2 separate regions of the Homo sapiens genome follow, and region 1 is linked to region 2. The links are contacts of gene promoters, found by promoter capture Hi-C in blood cells and fetal thymus (Javierre and others, 2016). All regions are on one chromosome and are shown on one strand. Each heading gives the region's core, a stretch centred on a gene start or on the middle of the fragment in contact. The rest is flanking DNA. Distances are from core to core; before and after follow the strand shown. Region 1 has its middle 31 kb from the start of SNORA88. Region 2 holds the start of DCDC1 (doublecortin domain containing 1).

Evidence for each region. Contacts are between HindIII fragments. The CHiCAGO score rates a contact against its expected background, and 5 or more counts as called.
Region 1: a fragment that was not itself captured here is called in contact with the fragment with the promoter of DCDC1 in region 2 in 4 of 17 cell types (activated CD4 T cells, naive CD8 T cells, erythroblasts and 1 more); the score reaches 7.1 in activated CD4 T cells.

The regions. Positions count from the first base shown.
Region 1 is chr11:32,171,749-32,177,488 of GRCh38, forward strand. No RefSeq gene overlaps it. Among named protein-coding and RNA genes, the nearest start is that of SNORA88, 31 kb to the left of the region's middle. RefSeq lists enhancers at 3,742-5,691, 4,196-5,440. The HindIII fragment of the contact is 5,168 bases long and covers 1-5,146 here.
Region 2 is chr11:31,365,241-31,370,988 of GRCh38, forward strand. It overlaps DCDC1 (doublecortin domain containing 1), which reads right to left and starts at 4,499. Exons shown (of 39, transcript NM_001387274.1): 1 at 4,457-4,499. It overlaps DNAJC24 (DnaJ heat shock protein family (Hsp40) member C24), which reads left to right and starts at 4,620. Exons shown (of 5, transcript NM_181706.5): 1 at 4,620-4,672; 2 at 5,476-5,619. The coding sequence starts at 5,509. RefSeq lists an enhancer at 4,433-4,912. The HindIII fragment of the contact is 5,979 bases long and covers 4,315-5,748 here.

The sequences.
Region 1 (5,740 bases), core at 1,313-3,812, 800 kb after region 2:
AAGACCTCCAGAGACCTAGAGAAATAGTGAGTAGGAGGGCAGGAAGATCACAGGATTGTTAAGTCCCAATCCTCCGAGCCTTAAAGAGTGGCTGATCCGGGAGCGGTGGCGGGCTCCTGTAGTCCCAGCTACTTGAGAGGCTGAGGCAGGAGAATGGCGTGAACCCAGGAGGCGGAGCTTGCAGTGAGCCGAGATCGCGCCACTGCACTCCAGCCTGGGCGACAGAGCCAGACGCTGTCTCAAAAAAAAAAAAAAAAAAAAAAAAAAAAAAAAAGAGTGACTGATCTGTGTTCATGGATGGATGAGTCTTCCCTTCGCTGCCCCGAGGACCTTTGAGTATGTCCCCTCACAGGCCCACGGGTTCCTGTTCTGCTCGATCAAAGCCCAGCCAGACAACACTGTGTCCCAGGAAACAAGAAGTTTAGCAGAGAGGGACTGAAAGTTCTTGTTTTGAAAGGATGCAGTGGGTTATTTCCTGCCACGCTATTTTGTTTCTAGCAAAAATTTTAATAAACAGGCTTTCAGAAGAAGGGACTACATCCTCTCTGCTAGATAGATTTGTTTTTGCCACATGGGTTTCAGTGTTCCTAATGAACTGTTAACAAGCTGTCAATTACACGCACAAATTAGGAGAGATGACATGGAGAGGTTTCTATCACAGAGTGTACTCCTAGGCTGCAAACTACAGACCCTTAGGGCCGAGGGCCTTGCCTTTGGACTTTCCAATGATCCCTTTGACCCATATGGGAAAATCATTGCAATTAGGTCCTGGTTTTGGAGGGGAGGGAGGTTTGAAGACCTAAGTTAAAAGTAAATTTTTTTTTTTTCTCACTCCAAGTGCTGAAAATTCTCTTGGTTTCTAGCAAATCAAACAGTTAATTCTCTGCTGCAACATGTAAACCTGTTTAACTTAAATGGGTGCTGACAGAAGACTTCATTCTGTGCGACTTTTATTGTCATTTCTTTTCCAGCCAATTGGCTCTGTAGCCTTTCTGCTGTTTATCAAGCCCCTCTTTGGGCTTCCGGGAATAAACTCCACACAAAGGAAGAAAACTGTGCAAGCAAATAACAAACTTTCAGTGTAATTATTCCTGCTCTCTGCCTGTCACTCCTTCCCAAGAGAATCTCCAGAAAGTCCCACTTATTCGAGGAGCTCTCAATCTCCCTGGCCTGTTTGAAGTCAGGAATGTGATGCTAGGGGAATGGTTTAGAGCGCCGTCGGCAGTGCTGAGGAAAGCCAAGTAGGCTGGCACATTCTGGGTGGCGGCGTGCCGTTCTCTAGGACACAAAGGGACATGAAAGGTTTTCCGCAGACCCGAAAGAGAAAGGAAACAAAAATCAGAAGTGCTCCCTTGGTGAGAATTGTTGGCAGGGCTCCTCTCACAGAAATCGGATAACAAAAAGACCAGTTACTGGTTAACTTTAAGAAAGAGCCAGCCACGCCAGGGGAAGGGCGCACATTAATAGTGAATGAAATGACCGTGTGCACGGCTTTGTGGTCAAAGGATCCGTGGGAGATTCTGGAAAGGAGGCTGCCCAGAGGGGCTGTCCCTAAACACACGGGGCTGATGGGCCACAGTTGTTCCCATTTCACTCCCATAACGTCAATCGTTTCCCCAGAAAGCCATGGGAGACTCTGTGGGCTGGGCCCTCAGATTTGCAGGGCTGATTCCTGGCCAGCTTAGGTACCCTGTGACTCAGTTTCCTACCTGCTGAAGAACTGGAATGAGGCTGACAATCCCAAAATGAAAGGAGATGCCCAGTGGCAGGATCCCTGGTCCCAGATGCAGAGGCTAGGACTGGCTGGGAGGGCTGTGGCCGGCAATCAGGACGCTGGAGGCTCCGATGGTTTCTTCCCTTTCTGGGGCACTGCTGCCTCCTGCTGTCCTGCCTATTAAATCTCAGGTTTCTCCCTCCACCCGGCTAATCAATCACCACCACCCTCTCCCTGGAGACTTTTCCTTGTGTCACCCAGGGTGCCATCACACATCAGGTCCCTCTTCAAGTCTGATCTTAGGTTCTCACTCTACTCTATCCTGCTGTAAGGGAGGAGTCCTGAATTTGGATTCTGAAGGCTCAGGCTCAAGTCCAAGCTCTGCCACTCACTGTGTAACAAGGAATATATTTCTTCATCTTGATGAACTTTGCTTCCTCTTCTGAAAACAGAGATTGGGGAGGATGAAGTCTCTGTGAGGTCCAAGTGAGATCATGGGAAAACTCTGTAAACCAGAAGGCAGTCAACCAGAGGTTTAATTTTATTATTTACTTATTATTTATTGAAACAGGGTCTTACTCTATTGCCCAGGCTGGGTGCAGTGGTGTGATCACAGCTCCCTGCAGCCTCAACCTCCAGGGCTCAAGCAATCATCCCACCTCAGCCTCCTGAGTAGCTGGGACTACAAGAGATTGCCACCACACCCAGCTAATTTTTATTTATTTATTTATTTATTTATTTATTTATTTAGTAGACACAGGATCTCCCTATGTTGCCCAGGCTGGTCTTGAACTCCTGGGCTTGAGAGATGTTCCTGCTTCAATTTCCCAAAGTGTTGAGATTACAGGCATAAGCCAGCAAGGCCAGCCTTAAACCAGAGGTTTTAAATTTGCCTCTATCTCTCTCTTTTACTCTTTTAGCAGTGGAACCCTCTTTTCCAAATTAGATCTTAAGTGGAGCCCCAAAAAGGCAGAGCGTTCTGGTAGAAGCAGGGGCAGAGCCCCCAGCCCCTTGGCCACACCCTCCAGGTTCTGGTCCCTACCCCATTGCTGGAAAACCACTGCCCTTGAGGAATATTCACTATTAACTATTAGCAATCGAAAGTATTTTGAAAATAAAGCCCCATGCTATTACTGAAAACATGAATAAGAAGATTAGAAGACAGCCAAACAATGCCCTTCAAAATGTCTGTCCACCTCCTTTTCTTTTTTCTTTCCTTTTTTTTTTTTTTGTTTGAGACGGACTCTCTATCTGTCGCCCAGGCTGGAGTGCAGTGGTACGATCTCGGCTCACTACAACCTCCGCCTTCCGGGTTCACACCATTCTCCTGCCTCAGCCTCCCAAGTAACTGGGACTACAGGCGCCCGCCACCACGCCCAGCTAATTTTTTGTATTTTTAGTAGAGACGGGGTTTCACCATGTTAGCCAGGATGGTCTCTATCTCCTGACCTCGTGATCTGCCTGCCTCGGCCTCCCAAAGTGCTGGGATTACAGGCGTGAGTCACCGCGCCCAGCCCTTTTTCTTTTTTCTTTTCTTTTCTTTTTTTTTTTTTTTTTTTTGAGACAGGGTCTCATTCTGTCACCCAGGCTGGAGTGCAGAGGTACAATGGTGGTTCACAGCAGCCTGACTGCCTCAGCTCAGGTGATTCTCCTACCTCAGTCTCCCAGGGTAGCTGGGACTACAGGTATGTACCACTATGCCCGGCTAATTTTTTGTATTTTCTATAGAAACAGGGTTTCACCATGTTGCCCAGGCTGAACTCGAACTCCTGGGCTCAAGCAGTCTGCCCACCTTGGCATCCCAAAGTGCTAGGATTACGGACATGAGCCACCATGCCTGGCCTGACTCCCACCTCTTTAAACACAATTTTTTTTGCAACCTGGTATTCTTTAAGTTTTCCTTGCAATGACTCCTATTTCATTTGTCATATCACCCATTTTCTCCTTGTCTGATACTCATGGCTACTTATCTTTAAAAGTGGTATCTTATGTCCATTTCGTGACTCACCCCTACACACACTAACATGCATGCACACATACACACAATTAAGAGCTACCTAAAAGTATAAATTTCTTAAAACCATTCTACAAAAATGAAAAATGAGCTATAGATCCACTGGTAAGAATCCTTTTGAATCTCCCAACAATCTCTACCACCAGTCACATTGCCAAAAATGACCACAGACAATTGTCCCCATCTGACTAATGTCCTCATCGTCAAGAATGGGATTTGCTGGCAGGTTTGGATCTGACATGAGTTGCAACACCCTGATCAGCTCGTGGGGCCTAGGCCCTGTTTTAATTCAGAGCTGGTATTCCTGCAGGATTCCCCACTACCTTCCCCTTCACTCTGCCGGTTTCATTAGGCAATTCTTCCCGATCTAAACACTCACTGTATGGTAGGTTGCAAAGCCACAGTCCCTACCCCCAGCCCCAGAGAGGCCCAGAGGGAAAGTCAGCAGGTACAATTATAGCTTTCACATGTCCTTCTGGAAAGAGGAGTTAAGTGTTATTTTATATATTTTTCTCAGCACCGTGTCAGTGATTTTCTCGGGAAGCACAAGGCTCCTGCTCCCCCCGCCCACATACAATGAAAATTTTATGGAAAAGTTATCCAGAGGAAGGATGGCAACGTTTTGTTTTGTTTTTTCCTGAAAGCCATGTGGGCTATTTTCTACTGCATACTACTGTCAAGAGCGGAATCACAAATAAATCTAAGAAGCAAGGAGAGGGGTATAAAATATAAACAAGGAAGGAAAGAAAGAAGGGAGTTAGCGAAATAAAGAGAGCTCCACATTTATTAAGAAAAAAAAGAATAAATTGGTTTTTTTTTACAAGCGACAGAAATTGGCCTACAAAGGGCCTTTCCTACTTGCATCCCCAAAACCAACCCGCCAAGCTATGGGCATTCATGGCTCTCTTGTGCCCTCTAGTGGGCAAAGGTGGTCCATGTTTTTTCCTTGAGTGACAGCCAGAGTCTCTCATGCACTTGTCGGCCTTCTTATTACATCATGAATTTTGATAAGCCCATTAGCCAGCCAGGCAGCCAGGAGGAGGATGTCTTTCTCACTTGATGACTACACAATGAGGAGTAATATATTTTAATTTAAACACCATAAACCTATTGAGTGCTTAATTAACTTTAACCGTCTTTAGGGGAATGAAGCCAATTTGAGGGGGTCAAAAGGAGTTGTTTCAATATCAAACAGTTTTACATAGTCAATCCATTCATTCGGCCTACAGCTACTGATTAACACACAAAATTAACATGTTAGTAAAAATTCATATTCAGGCCTCTGGGGAAATTAAGATGCGCATGCACAGGGCATGATTAGCACAGCTATTGTTTTCTCCCAACAATATAATTTAATGGGTTTTTAGAATTACAGAAAGAGAGACTCGGTGCTGGTTTGAATTGATTATTTACCACAAAGCTTTGAAATATAGAAAAGATAGAAAACATCTCAAGCCAAAAAGGCCAGCGAACAGAGGCGGATGGGCTCAGAGCGAGTGTATCTCACTAAGGAGGTTGGCGGGATGAACTGATGGAGAGGCAGGCTGGGCATCCCAACTCGACATGAGCCAGGGCCAACGGGACCAAAGAGAGGATTTCTGGCTGCCTGGAAAAGCACAGTAAGGGCTGCCTGCCCAGGGAGGAGGAAATTATTTCATTTAATATGTAATCATATTATACATACAGTCTATTTCCCAGAAGTATCTAAGGCAGATTATGTTATTTAAACATACTAAAAATAATAAATTTTTAAAAGAATTTTTTTTAAAAAAAAAAAGATAGGGAGTCAATGAGAAAGAACAAAGAGCAACTGAGTAAGGCAGTTACCACATTCGCAAAGCAAATTTAGTTCTGAGCTTCCTGGCAGCCAAGGAAAAAGTGCCAAGTACACTAGGATATATGGTTCTCATTACCTGTTGCCTTCAAAGGGATGTATAAGTTTGACTGAATAGATGTGTTTCCTTCCTCATGCTAAATTTGAGAGCAACTGATTGTGTAGTTACTTACAGAAA
Region 2 (5,748 bases), core at 3,249-5,748:
CATTGACTTTTAAAAATCAAATAACTAGCTAGTTTTTGGTGGTTTTTCTATCTTCCCAGTAGATTATAAGTTGCTCTAGAGACAATCATTCAATTTTGGAACATAACCATCATATCCCATGGTACTTAAATACAGCTTAGTTCACTGGTATAAAAATCCTAAAATTCAGAAATAAAAATCAAGGAAATGAAGGAATAGTTGGTGATGGAACTACCAAAAGAGCCAAGTAAATATAATCCTGAATAGGAAATAATTAGCAGAAGTACACTATATGTATACATCTATATAATATAGATATAGATTTCCATTATTATCCATCAATGAGAAGCACAATTGACTAGTATGACATCAAATTAAGAATTTGTGAATGTCTGGTAGACGTTAGTTTACGGGCAGGCGTGTACCAAAGTGATAGATTTAATAACAATGTCATTTTTTCCTATCATCATGACAAAGGATCTTAAACTCCTGATGTATCTAGCTACATCTATAGCACTTGATCAATCATCTGGGAATCAAATATTTAATATACGCCTACCTTGGTTATGTTAGATGCTGATGACGCAAACTAAAGTTTTGCCTATCCTTTTAATTTATTCTGAAGTCCAACCAAATGTACAGTTCAACAAATATTTGGGTTTGATTTTATTTTTCCAATTCAATTGTTTCTTGCTGTCATTTGCTCTCTTTGGAAATTCCTAAAATACTGTTATGAATGTCCAACATTCTAATATATCAAATGTGCAACAAATATTATTAATTAATAATAACAACAATAGCTAACCTTTACTGAATACTTATTACTTTCAGGCACAACTATCTCATTTAATTCCCACAACAAATCTATGAGGGAAATACTATTATTACTCCCATATTACAGAGGAAGAAACCAAAGCAAAGAGATGAATTAAGTTCACATAGCCGTAAGAGGAAAAGCCTGGACTAAACACATATGTTCTGACTCTAGAGTTCATGCTTTTAACCATGATACTAACATAGTTTATATTTCCACTATGTAAGTTTCACATAAAATGGATAAATTGCCTTTTAAATATAAGATACTGAGAAACAAAACTATTAGAGCTATGTATCATTAGAACTCCAGAGAATGAGGCAAGATAGCTGGTTCTTAGTTTCTCTGGAGAGGTGTTCTTGCTCTCAGAAAGCTTGCAACCCAACTGGGGAATCAGAATATATTCTAAGGAAAACAATATACTGTGATATACAAAGGACTTGCTATGAAAGTTGAGGGGCGGCAGTAAGTTCTAAGGACCAGGCCATCATAAAAGGCTTGATGGAAGAGATAGGCCTTAAAGCAGGGATTACTCTGATAGGAGGAAGAAAAGAATTAGGGTGTTATAAGTAAGGAGAAGCATTTGAACACAATTATTGATGAAATGCTGTTACCAAAACACCAGGAGTTCCATCTATGTCTTGCTGCTTACCACCCAAAAAGTCAATCACTGAGACAATGATTATTGTCAAAGAAGAAGGCTTTAATCAGATGCTGCAGCCAAGGAGATGGGACATCAGTGTCAAATTCACCTTCCTCACTGACTAAAATTAGGGGTTTATATAACAGGGAAGAAATGTTAACTACGTATGAGAAAACAGGAACTAAGGAAGGGTAAGGAAACAATAACGAAGAATGAGGGGTCTGGCATATCACTGTCTAGATGCAGTAATCTGGTGAGTTTCAGCTCTTTGATACTTGTTGAGAGGTCTGGGCATCCTTTCTTGAGGAAGGAACTGAGATAAAGATCAACAAAATGTGGCTGGGCGCAGTGGCGCATGCCTGTAATCTCAGCACTTTGGGAGGCTGAGGCAGGCAGATTGCTTGAGCTCAAGAGTTCCAGACCAGCCTGGCCAACATGGTGAAACTCCATCTCTACAAAAAAAAATACAAACATTAGCCAGGCATAGTGGCATGCACCTGTGGTCCCAACTACTTGGGAATCTGAGGTGGGCAGATGACTTGAGCCTGGGAGGTAGAGGCTGCAGTGAGCTGAGATCATGCCACTGCACTCCAGACTGGACACCAGGGCAAGACTCTGTCTCAAACAAGCAAACAAAAAGATAAAACAAATGCAAGTTTCAAGCTTTCAGAAAAGAAGTGTCCATTTCTATGTTTATTAATTTAAAAAACCCCAATAAACAAAACTAAACAAACAAACAAAACCCTGTCTATGGGACTGTTGGGTTGATTTCAGTACCATGAAAAGATCCAATTGTTTAAATGTTTAATGTATGGAGATAATAGGGGAGGTTGGAAAAGTAAGGATCATATTGAAGAGGTAACTTGAATGCTAGGTTAAGGAGTTAGGACTTTATTCTCTAGACCTGCCCTGCTGGATACAGTAGCCACTAGTCACATGTGGCTACTGAGCATTTGAAATGTGCTAGTTCAAATTGAGGTGTGTTCGGGCACAATACATACCAGCTTTTGAAGACTTAGTAGGAGAAAAGAATGTAAAGTATCGCCTTAATAATTTTTAGATTAATTAATTTTGTAGCTTGCACTTACGGCTTACATTATATTTCTATTGGAAAGTACTGCTCTATAAAATGAAAAATGAAGGAAGCTTAATGATCAGAAATTTATGTAAAAATTGTTTTAAGAAGTTTATTTTGGTATAAGCAGAGTGTAAGACAACTGTTCTCATTCAGTAAGCCAATGGCAAGTAAAGAAAAAAACAAGGTTCTAGTGAAGAAATGGGACTGCTATAATTTAAAAGATATTTAAGAGACAGAACAGCTAAATGGAAAGTGTACATTTTGTCTGATTCTGAGTCAAGCAAACCAACCAGAAAAAGACATTTTCAATTAACCGTGGAAATGTAAGTAAGGTCTAGATATTATGTGACAGTCCAATAATGACATTATGGAGATAAAAGAAAAAGTTGGTACATTTTAGGGATGCAAACTAAAGTATGTAGAGATGAAATGACAAAATATTTGGTATTGCTGGGGAAAAAAACTATTTCTTACTTTCCAAACCCCAATAAATAAATAAGGTAACACAATAACCTAATAAATAGTAAATCAAAATAAAATGCTTTTGCTGTAAAAAACAAAAAACCTGGAGTACCGGAGCATATCTACCTACACAAGGAAGAACCAAGCTGTGGACAGAAGGGAGTTTGAGGGCTAGAGATGTTCAAGGTGGCATCATTCTGACAGTACTGTTTAGAAAAGCATTCACCACACTACTTAATTCCATTGCTTTAGGTATTTTCATGAGGCCACACAAGAAAGTATGATGCAGCCAGGACTAAAACCAGATGCTCTTTGTATCTGCCTTTAAACATGACAAAACCCTGTGGAGAACCTAATCTATGCTTTCATCTTTAGATTTTTAAACTTGCTTGTTTCATTCAGTTATTCTTTATAGTTCATAACATCATTAAATAACTGATCATATTAGATTATTTTATTTATTCTGCTTAAGTTTATCTTGACTGCTTCTCAAACTCAGATTGGTAGAAGTTTAAAAAAGAAGGAAAGCAAAATCAAAGCAGTAACAACAAAACCATTTTAACATCTCCAAGTGAAATTTATGTCATGCTGGCCAAAAATAAGATGTAGTTTTCATCTCCAGGTACAATGCTAGGAAGAGGTGTTAATGTAAAGTAAGCAGCACAAAGAAGTAATAAAAGGAAACACAGGAATCAAGAAAGGGAGAAGAAAGAAAGGTGAGAAAAACACCACCACCACCACCACCACCACCACCAGCAACAATAACAAACCCCAACAGTGCCCATATGCAGTGCCCCCTAACTGCTTCGAAGAAGAACAGTTCATTCTGCTTTTTTCTGTAAGCTTGAAAGATAGCATAGCTGCCCTGGGAATGTGTAGACTTGCTGAGTCCTTGTTCTGCCCCTACCCAACTAGCTGTTTGGCCTTGATCCTTGATTTCTTTCCTCATCTATAAAGTGGGAATAATGGCACCTGCCTTACTTGTCTCACTGGGTTGAAATGAAAGCGAAGTGAAATAGCAAATGTGAAAGAATTTTGGAACGTTTTTATGTTGTAAGTTGGTTGCTAAGGTCTAAAAGAAATATTAATAATTACGTCGAATATCTTCTGCAGAAAAAATTAAACCGACCCCATCCCCCGCACATCTAGCCCTACCTGGCATAGGTTTTAGTTCTTTTAATTTTCGAATTAGAACATTGTAAAGGAACTGTAGGGACGAGAGTGGCATCAGGTCTCCTCATCCTTCTCACATCCTTGCCCCCGCACCCCTCTCTCACCCCAGAGTTCAAGCACCAACCGAAAAGATTGAGAGTAGCTCAGGGTACGGTAAACGGAGGAAGCTTTGAAAAAGGCGGGGAAAGCCTGGGATGGCGAGGGGGTGCTCGCTGAGGAGGAGGAGAGAAGCGACAGTCGCGGGGCCCGGAAAAGAGAGACTTAGAGCGAAGCCAAAGGCGCCTTTCTTCACAGTTTGGGAACTTACTGGTAGTAAACGCCACTCCATAGAAGCGGTGACCGGTTACCATAGAGACCGCGTCGGGGTGGGCGGAGCGTCGCTTCTGAGCTGTGCCACGGCCACATCAGCTCGGCCAGAAACGCGAACACGTCGGAACAGTGACTTCCGGCGGAAGAAGAAGCCGGTCCGGAGTTCTGGCCGACAGCAGGCGAGGAGTGGGTAGCAGCGCCTATGTGAAGTTAGGTAGGTCTGATGTCGTATAAAGCGCGGAGAGGGTGCCCGCCAATGGCTGGGTGGGTAAAGCCGACTGTGAATGGAGAAGATTCCCAAGTCCCGAGCTTGAGGAGGCCCCGGCTGTTTCGTTAAGTGTATATAGCTGTGGGAAGAGGTTGCCTGATTTCTGGGGCTCCTGGTAGGGTCTCTCTTCTGGAGCGTGGAAGACTGGGGCATCCTCGCGTAGAGAGTTTCACTCTGTCTTTGCGAGGTCTCAGCGCCTCTCCAATAACAGGGGACTCTTGTTCTCTACCAGCTGGTGCTGACGTTATTTCCCATATCATGCTCTCCAGACAATCTGGAGGAAAAGCAAACGAGAAACTTTCAGAAGGAATGCCCCCAAATTTATTTTAATTCTTTGATGTTCTGTTTTGCTTTTTTTTTATTCGTTCATTTTGTAAATATTCATTAAGCTCCTCCAGCGTGTTTAGTGGGTGCTTACTTGTGTGCCAGTTTTATCATAAGACTAGCAGAAATACCTTCTTAGAGGTTCATACACCACCTGGTTCATTATAAAATTCTTTTTTTTAATGCTGTTCATTAATTAAAGTATAAATATATATCGTGAAATACCTAACACGTTTTCCATACTTGTCGGTACACTTATACCTGGAATTCTTGGGGCATTTTAAATGAAAATCTGTGCTTCCTCAGGTTTGCATTATAATCATGATTTACTCGACTAAATACTAAAGAATTTACAAGGGCAGTACTTAATTTTTTCTTAGATACATGGCAAACTGTGATGAATTGTCATTAATATTTCTATTCAGCTAATCTGAGAAGGCCCACTTCTGGTTCCATGGATGATGGCGGTTGAGCAGATGCCAAAAAAGGATTGGTACAGCATCCTGGGAGCAGACCCATCTGCAAATATATCAGACCTAAAACAAAAATATCAAAAACTCATATTAATGGTAAGTCTTTTCTTTCAGATTTTAAATCATGAGGGGAAAAAAATCAATTTTTATATGAAACCACAAATTTAGGTTTCCAGAAAATAGGATACCAGTGGCAGGAATCCAGGTATTAATTTGATTTAATTG